Regions from separate parts of the Homo sapiens genome. Here regions 2 and 3 are each linked to region 1. Evidence: promoter capture Hi-C in human tissues and cell types (Jung and others, 2019). All regions are on one chromosome and are shown on one strand. The core of a region is centred on a gene start or on the middle of the fragment in contact, and the rest is flanking DNA. Distances in the headings are between cores, read along the strand shown. Region 1 holds the start of EIF3H (eukaryotic translation initiation factor 3 subunit H). Region 2 overlaps TRPS1 (transcriptional repressor GATA binding 1). Region 3 overlaps TRPS1 (transcriptional repressor GATA binding 1).

Region 1 (2,753 bases), core at 171-2,670:
GCCCGGCCTGCATTTTCAAAGTATTACACAAGTGACATTTAGAACAAAACATTCCAAAGTTAATCTCTTGCCTGCATCTTTCAAACTCTGCTAACCACAGACATTAAACTCATAATAATAATCATAATTAACATTAAGTGATTACACTGTACTACAGGTCACCACATAAACTTTTTCATTTAATCCAAACAACTCTATGATACAGATACTTCTCATTCCCACTTGACAGATGAGGAAAGCAAAGCCTGGAAAGGCTAACTTGCCTTAAAGTCACAGAGCTGGTTAAGTGGAAGAGCCTAGAAGACTGAATGAGCTCTTAACCACCAGGCTACACTCTTGTATCCAGTTTAACTAAGTCAGTTCAACAGATTCAATTATATGCTGCGTTTAAATTATCAACAGTTTCCACTTAAAAATACCTGCTTGCAATTACAATTTTCACATGAATTTAAAAGTACTTTCTTATTACAAATATCTAAGATCTGCATTAATAGGAAATAACCTTTAAAAAAATCAAAGGAAGAGAGGATGCTTTTTAAAAAGAGGGCAGGAAGGATACTTTTAAAACTAGAACGTCATATAAATGCATTTTGCTTCGAAACAACAGAAATAAAATTTCTCATTCTAGATTTTCCTCTTCCCAGCTAAGTCCATTTCCTTATCAAGAATTTCCTTGGATGTCCTAGTTCATGAACCTTAACTACTAAATACATTTAAGGCCCTTCTCTTTGATATTCTTTTATGTTTTTCAGAATGAACACTACAAAAGAGTATTCTAAATTATACGGTTTCAGATAAAGCGCCGAAGTACAGGCTCAAAAGAGTGGCTACAAAGTACATCTCCACTTGGAACGTTATAGATGTCAGATCCCAGCAGGGAATCAGTGGAGTTTCCTTACTCTCTCCTTCCCAGAGCCCTACTAGGTCCCTAAATCCTTCTCGACACCTTCGTTAGCTGCTGGTCTCCAGGAGTCTTTCTTCAAATCCCCCCACCGGTCATCTCAAAACAAGACCCCAGGAACCTGTCACTCACACCCCTATTCTCAGTCCCCTTCCTGAAGCCCCAACTGTCCCGTTAGAAGACAAGAGAAGGCTGTCGAAGCTCCTGAACAAAAAGTGAAGATGAAAGAGAAACGTACTAGGGAAAAACTTTGGCCCAGCCACACCAAGCCCAAGGGGGAGAATGCTAGAAAGTACGTCTGGTGGGACGGGGCTGGGAACTGCGCTCCCCACGTGGGCCAGAGGAAAAAGAACAGCACTCACAAGGCCATCTATCTGCACTTGCTTCACGGCTGAATCTCCCGAGCCGCCTTTGCCTTTGCCTTTCCCTGCTGCGCCGGCGGTGGAGCTGGAAGAGGTGGCAGTAGAGCCGGTACCTTCCTTGCGGGACGCCATCTTTCCAAGCAGACAGGAAGAAAGAGAAACGTGAGTTACCGGAAGCGGAAGTACAAGTCTCGCGTGACGTCACTCGCAGGCCGGCGTTCGAGGGGCGGAGACGGAAGGAGAAGCCAAAATTGGGCCCCGCCTCCCTCCTGTTTTCCAGTTTTACCTTCTTTCCAGGCGGTATCCTTTGTGCATGCCTACTGTACATTTTCGACCTCTTTCCGATGGAATGATCTAAGATGAAAGTAAACTTTTTAAATGTTTAATCATTCACCACTAGGCAAACCGTCATAATAGCATTACAGTTCGCATTATTTCTGTAGTGTCTCTTATGTAAAAATGCTTTCATTTCTGATCTTGCAATGAAGTGCTGTACTAACTCGCATTATGCATATTAGAAAACTGATAAGTGATTTGTCCGACATTATTCTGTTAATTAGCGATGAGCCAGTATTGCACAGCTTGTTTTACGTAATTTTAGATAGCTGCTTGTAACCACTTAGATTATATAGAAATTAAGACATAGAAACTTTTATCAGAATTACCAGAAATAGTAGCCTTTTGCTATTAGCTTCATGTAGAGATTTACCTGAGTAAAGTACCAAAGAAGTTATCTGAGGTATTGTTGAAGGATGATACAGAATATATTTTCTAAAAATCACGCTGATTTATGACACATTACTCTGAAATACACATCTCAAGTCCTTAAAAGAATATATGACAACTGTAAGAAGCCATTTTAGATAAGTAATTTGAAACATTCTTTTCTACTTCCAAATGACTTTTTTCCTATCCCTTATTTTTGAAATGTTTATTCAATAAATATGTATACAGAACTGATGAAATAATTAAATCAATAAACGGCATATCCTGCCCTGAAGTTTTTTGTTGTTTTGTCATTGGGATCTGGTGTTATATTTCAATCTGGGAGGAGAAATAGTTACATGTTACAAATTCTTAACACTACAAAATGAAAAGTTAATATCCACTCATTTCAAGTGTATATGAAATATTTATTAAAATACACCAAACCCTAGGTCACACAGAAAGTCCACAAATTTAGAGGTTTTAAAGGTTGATCCTGGTAAAATTACACTAGAAATTGGTAACAGAACATTCACAAAAAGAAGAAAGAAAATCTCGCATGGAAGAACCAGACTGGAGGTTTTTGCCTACCACTAGGTAGCTGGAATGATGAGCATTAGAAAACAGTGAGGCTACTTATAAACAATAATACATTTATTTATTGCTTTATCCTACAACATACATAACACAGTTTTGTTTCAGAATTACAATACCAATATCCTCATAGCAGTAAAACTACAAAGTAAAGTTTAAAATATTTTGCAATTTTTTTGTCCTTGAAAATA
Region 2 (2,900 bases), core at 178-2,677, 1.1 Mb before region 1:
TCCACAATGCCTCCCCATGCCTGCCTTTAGAAGTCTTTGCAACGACAAAATGATGTGCATGGAGTTTTAAGCTTTTAAAAGACACAGGTCTACTGTTCAAAACTGTTATCTGTCAGTGTTGTTCGTGTTCACAGGAATAAGCAAATCATAGTACTAATATGAACACGCATAAAACAGCAGGTCTTTGGGAAAAACCCTGGAAATGAATTGCTGGTAACTAACACACCTACAGTACCAATGCCTGTATCCAGTATGTGTTCCAAAGGACTGAAAGCAATACAACTTTACCTAATTTTCTCAACTCCTAACGTATCCGTAAGTGTTGAAGGGCGTAGTCTATGTTCAAATTAGGAGAGGCTCTTGGTTAGAGGTAAACTGAAGCGCTGAAAACTAAGTTTTGGATAATTACAGTTCAAGATGTAACACTCTCATTTATACCCACTCTCCCTTATATAACAGGTAAGCCTCTGAGGTTCAGAGTCTGACAATGGAACTTCTACATTTATTCAGGTATTTGGCAGCCAGCAGGTCGGAAGCAATTCAATTGCTTAAACCTGATTTTACTACCTAACTTGGGGGTGGGGAGGTGTTGCAGGGAACAGTCTGGATTCATATGTATCTGGTTTTCTGTTTTGGAATATAACTTAAAATATTTTTGAAGAAATATGGTAAAGTGATTATCCTTCTGGAACTAGATACACCGACACTGTCACATTAACTCACAGCTTGTTAAATACTGTGCAATCTTTCTATAACATTCTTTGTTATGAGACTAGAATCAGCATATGGGAATTGCTCTTTTCCTGCTAAACTGAAGTCATTACTAACTACTCATCTGTGACATGTACTCTTTCTTGTAACCAGGGATTTTAGCTTCACAAAATTTAGAAACTGCCGCATTGTTTCTTGGCATTGCTTTCAAATGTGACATCATTTAAATTTTGGAATATTCCATTTTAGCAAATACACTAGTGGGTGCCAGGTTAAAGATGACTGCCCAAAAAGGGGCAGCAGCGTCTCTGTAGGGAACAACCACAGATTATTCTTTCAACCTATACCATCCCACGCCTTTCACCAGAGGCATACTGAATTACAATGAGCTCAATAAATACATTTCAAAAATGGGTTATCAAATTACCAGCCTATAGCAATGGCTTCCAGTCACTGAAGACCTATATTGAAAAACAACTGTGATATATGGAAATGAAAACTCCATTTTCATTTGGGAGGCCAGGGCAGGTGGATCACCTGAGGTCAGGAGTTCGAGATCACCCTGGCCAACATGGTGAAACCCCATCTCTACTAAAGTACAAAAAATTAGCTGAGCATGGTGGCGCATGCCTGTAGTCTCAGCTACTCGGGAGGCTAAGGCAGGAGAATCACTTGAACCTGGGAGGCGGAGGTTGCAATGAGCCAAGATTGCACCATTGCACTCCAGCCTGAGTGACAGAATGAGTCTCCGTCTCGAAAACAAAACAAAACAAAACAAAACAAAACTCCATTTTCAGTTTTCCTAATTTCCAAAGTCTAAAATATATGTGTAATCCCAGCACTTTGGGAGACTGAGATGGGAAGAATTCCTTGAGGCCAGGAGTTCAGGACCAGCCTGGAAAATACAGCAAGACTCCGTCTTTACAAAAAATTAGAAAATTAGCAAAGGCATGATGGCTTGTGCCTGTAGTCCCAGCTATTTAGGAGGCTGAGGCTGGAAGAGCCCTTGCGCCCAAGAGTTCAAGGCTACAGAGAGCTATGATCGCACCACAGGACACCAGCCTGGGCAACACAGCAAGACCCTATCTCAAAAAAAGAAAAAAAAAAGAAAAGAAACCTGTGTGTATATATATATATACACACATACACATTCAAGACACTACATACATAATAGTCATATATCCGATATGAATCCAACAGAAACACACAGATGGACCTACTGACTCCTTTATTGCTGAGCAAAAAAATAATACAGAACTGTGTTTAAATGACAAAGATGACAGAAAATCAGTATCATTCACAGCCTCTGAAAGTCTTATTTTGGAAATTTTTGTATGATTTCTAGAACTTCTTCCATTATTTAAAAACTTACATAACCAAAAGAGTAATTCTAATCATCTCATCAATACACTCCATAAGCCTCCAATTATGAAACTTGTGAATTTTATAATCCAAATACAATTCAATAGCAGCACCTGCCAACAAAAATTTAAAATTGGTACTCTCAATTAGGGACACCTTTTCTATCAAAAAATGACTCCAAAGGTGCATGGTAATTTCTCCTAGAAAATATGAATGACTGTGTCAGTGTTTAAAAAAATGCTTTGATAATCTAACCCCAGCAAAAACATTAGTAAGTTTAATCATTTTTATTATTCCCCAAAAAGACATATTTGGTTAATGTTTTTATCTGATAATAAAAGCATGCTTACTTCGTGAAAAAAAATATATATATATATAAATATATATATTTAACGTTATATATATATAACACCTCGGAGATACTACACCTCGGAGATACTACAGATTCAGTTTGAGACTACTAAAATAAAGTGAATATTGCAATAAAGCAAGTCACAAGAATATTTTGGTTTCCCAGTGCATATAAAAGCTACATTTACATTACACAATGGTCTATTAAGTGGGCAATAGTATTATGTTTAAAAAATACACTTAGTTAAAAACATTCTTTATTACTAAAAAATACTAACAGTCACCTGAGTCTTGAGCAATTGGTAATCTTTTTGCTGGTCTTGCCTCATTGTTGATAGCTGCTCAGTGGAGGTCTTTGCTGAAGCTGGGGGTGTCTATGGCAATTTCTTAAAATAAGGCAACAATGAAGCTTCCCACATCAACTGACTCTTCTTTCATGAATGATTTGTTTGTAGCATGCAATGCCACTTGATAGC
Region 3 (2,858 bases), core at 358-2,857, 1.3 Mb before region 1:
ATATTTTTTAAAGAAACTGGTATCAACAGTTTGACTGAAAGGTTAAAGGGGAAACATAATTCTATAATATCATAAACTCTGTCATAGCATATTCAGAAAAGGAAATTGTTGACAAATGTAATTGAGGCAAGTGCTTTATTTCCTTTCCCTAAATGTAGAGAGAGCTTGATTGTATTTCTGAAACTTTAATGCAAACTCTACAGTAAAGTGAAGAAGGGCTTGGAATGAAACACAGTATAGTTTCTCCATGAGAAACAATTAGTATGCCGAAGAGCTTATGTCGAAGGAAACTTCTGAAATCACAAAGCCCATTAAGACACAAACTGGCTGTGGATCTAGAAATACTAGGGATTTCAGGGTAAGGAGGGAGCAGGATAAAAGAGAAGGGGGGCGGGGCAAAGAGCTCAATTAACACACAGCCATTTGAGTAGGGACTGCTCTTTTCATGTCCCTCCCATTTTACAAATGCCCAGAGGCATTTCTGCAGTGGAACACCTTTGCAAATTCTAAAAATAAAGCAATAAACTTTAACTCCTCAACTTTCATAATATTTTGACAGATTCTCCCAACTTTAATTTCCTTTTTGTAATGGTAGTGTGATTTGCATTATGTTACATTGCTTCATTTTGCCATTAAAAAAAAAAAGTTAATCTCAAGAGAACTGCTCTGGAAATTATGCGCTACTTTAATAGACATCCCCTCAGAATGGAATAAAAATAATTTTCTCTTTGTAATCTTATCCTGTAATGGTTGGTACGATCTCACCATAGGCCTGTTTTGGAAGCAAGGTTTGAATTTTCTTAAAGAAATTTTGAATGTTATTCTTAGAACAGCTTCTTGTTTCTCACAAAAATCATTTATGTAAAGGGAAGGAGCACACTGATTTATTTAAAATTTGGGGAAATTGCGAACCAAAAAAAAAATGCATTCCAATTTACAAGTTACTTGATTCTGTCATATGAAGTGGCAGTGTCCTTTTCCTTTCCTGCTTAAAAAAGCAGCTCTGGCCTGTGGAAGGCAAGTGGCAAATGTAAGCTTTATGGCAAAACCCACTCAATGATTTAAAAATGCTCCAGGAACACTGTGTTGGAAAGAAATCAGTGGTACTGAGGTGTGAATGGAGGATGCTCTTTAAAGGAAGCAATTTGACCTTTTGTTAAAAAAAAAAAAAAAGTCAGTATCTCTATTTTGCCTTTTGTACCCAAATAAAGCTCATTTATTCTGAACTTTTCTGTGATTTGAATTTCTACCTATTAGGCTTTCCTATATTGCGATATGAGTGTCCAGGAGCCAGGACAGAGAATAAGACACATTTTTTAAAAAGGGATAGGCTAGAAGGATAGCACTGGAAATGACATTAACAGACATAAGGGGAATAACATGGAATGTGATAGCTAGCAAGCTATAAAGTCACTAAGGGGGATGAGACTGACGTTCAATAGGATAAGAAAGCAGTCCTGAACATAAAATTTCTTATCACTACTCTTAGCTCACTGTGTAAATAACCCCACACTTCTAGTACACCTCAAACTTCTCTGCTATCTAAGGAAGGAGTATAATCATTTCTCCCCAGGTTGATCATAACCTGAGCTTCTTCCTATGACTGCAAGAAAATCTCCATAACCTTGGGCACAACAGAGATGTTACCCAAGAGTAGTCCTGCTGTACGACATCAATTAGAATGACTGAGGCAGCCTCCTCCACAGCCTTTGTTTTCTAGATTTTTCGTGCCTACAGAAATTCCCCATGAAGATTCCACTATTCCACACTTCACTGATAAGGAATGACAAACTAGAGCACTGCTTTTGTTTCTGAGTTTCAATTTCCGAAATACGAATAGCATAGTAATGTATGTAACTGTAACTCATCAAGTTCTATATATTTTTTAATTCATATTTTTAAATAGTGAATTTTCAATTATCTTCAAAGGATCATATGCCCTACAGTTTATTTCTGACAAATCATCTGTTTTATTATTTCTGACATCCTTACCTATTCTGCTTAATTAAATGATTTATTTACATAAACGGGATATTTGCTTAATCTAATCCAGGATTTTAAGAGGGAGAAATGCTTTAGGAATAAAAATAATTTCCCTTGCATATATGAACAAACAAATAGTACTTCTGTGTGAAGGTTGATAAAAATTAACTCCCAGAATAAAGTGGAAGCAAAACTGATGAGAGGGACAGGATGGAAAAAGTAGGCAGTTTCCAGCCTTTTGTGAGTCACATATTAACTCTGTGGTTACCGTGTCTCAAGAATTTTCAGGTTACAGATACTCTCCAATGAACAATTAAAACCCTTGCCAAAGCCAAATGTAAACGACTTTGAAAAAAGTTTTATACTCCTCAATGGCAGACACACACACAAAAAACCTGAAGAGTAGAACAGAGTGACTAATTCACCAGCACAGCATTTCGAGAAACAAGTGAACTGCTTGTTATACTGATGTTTTCTCCAATCCTCCACAAAGCATATATGCACACAGGAAGCAATTATAAGCTACAGAACTCATAATACATTTTGAAAAAGGGATATACATAGTACATTACTTGTTTGCCTAAAAGCCATCAGAATTTAAGGCCAGGCATGGTGGCTCACTCCTGTAATCCCCACACTTTGGGGAACTGAGGACAAGAGATCATATGAGGCCAGGAGTTTGAGACCAGTCTGGGCAACATAGATAAACCCCTGTCTCTACAAAACTAATTTAAAAATATCCAGGCATGGTGGTACACACCTGTGGTACCAGCTACTTCGTAGGCTCAACCAGAGGATTGCTTGAGCCTGGGAGGTTGAGGCTGCAGTAAGCCATTATCTTGTCACTGCATTCCAGTCTGGGTGACAGAGTAAGA

Evidence for each region. Contacts are between HindIII fragments. The study calls those that stand out against the background at their distance.
Region 2: a contact is called between a fragment that was not itself captured here and the fragment with the promoter of EIF3H in region 1, in 1 of the 25 tissues and cell types used here (dorsolateral prefrontal cortex).
Region 3: a fragment that was not itself captured here is called in contact with the fragment with the promoter of EIF3H in region 1 in 1 of the 25 tissues and cell types used here (dorsolateral prefrontal cortex).

Annotation. Positions count from the first base shown.
Region 1 is chr8:116,754,403-116,757,155 of GRCh38, forward strand. It overlaps EIF3H (eukaryotic translation initiation factor 3 subunit H), which reads right to left and starts at 1,421. Exons shown (of 8, transcript NM_003756.3): 1 at 1,264-1,421. The coding sequence starts at 1,395. The HindIII fragment of the contact is 13,175 bases long and covers 1,070-2,753 here.
Region 2 is chr8:115,640,414-115,643,313 of GRCh38, forward strand. All of the region lies in intron 1 of TRPS1 (transcriptional repressor GATA binding 1), which reads right to left. Among named protein-coding and RNA genes, the nearest start is that of TRPS1, 27 kb to the right of the region's middle. The HindIII fragment of the contact is 5,413 bases long and covers 1-2,900 here.
Region 3 is chr8:115,466,274-115,469,131 of GRCh38, forward strand. All of the region lies in intron 5 of TRPS1 (transcriptional repressor GATA binding 1), which reads right to left. Among named protein-coding and RNA genes, the nearest start is that of TRPS1-AS1, 42 kb to the right of the region's middle. The HindIII fragment of the contact is 5,538 bases long and covers 1-2,858 here.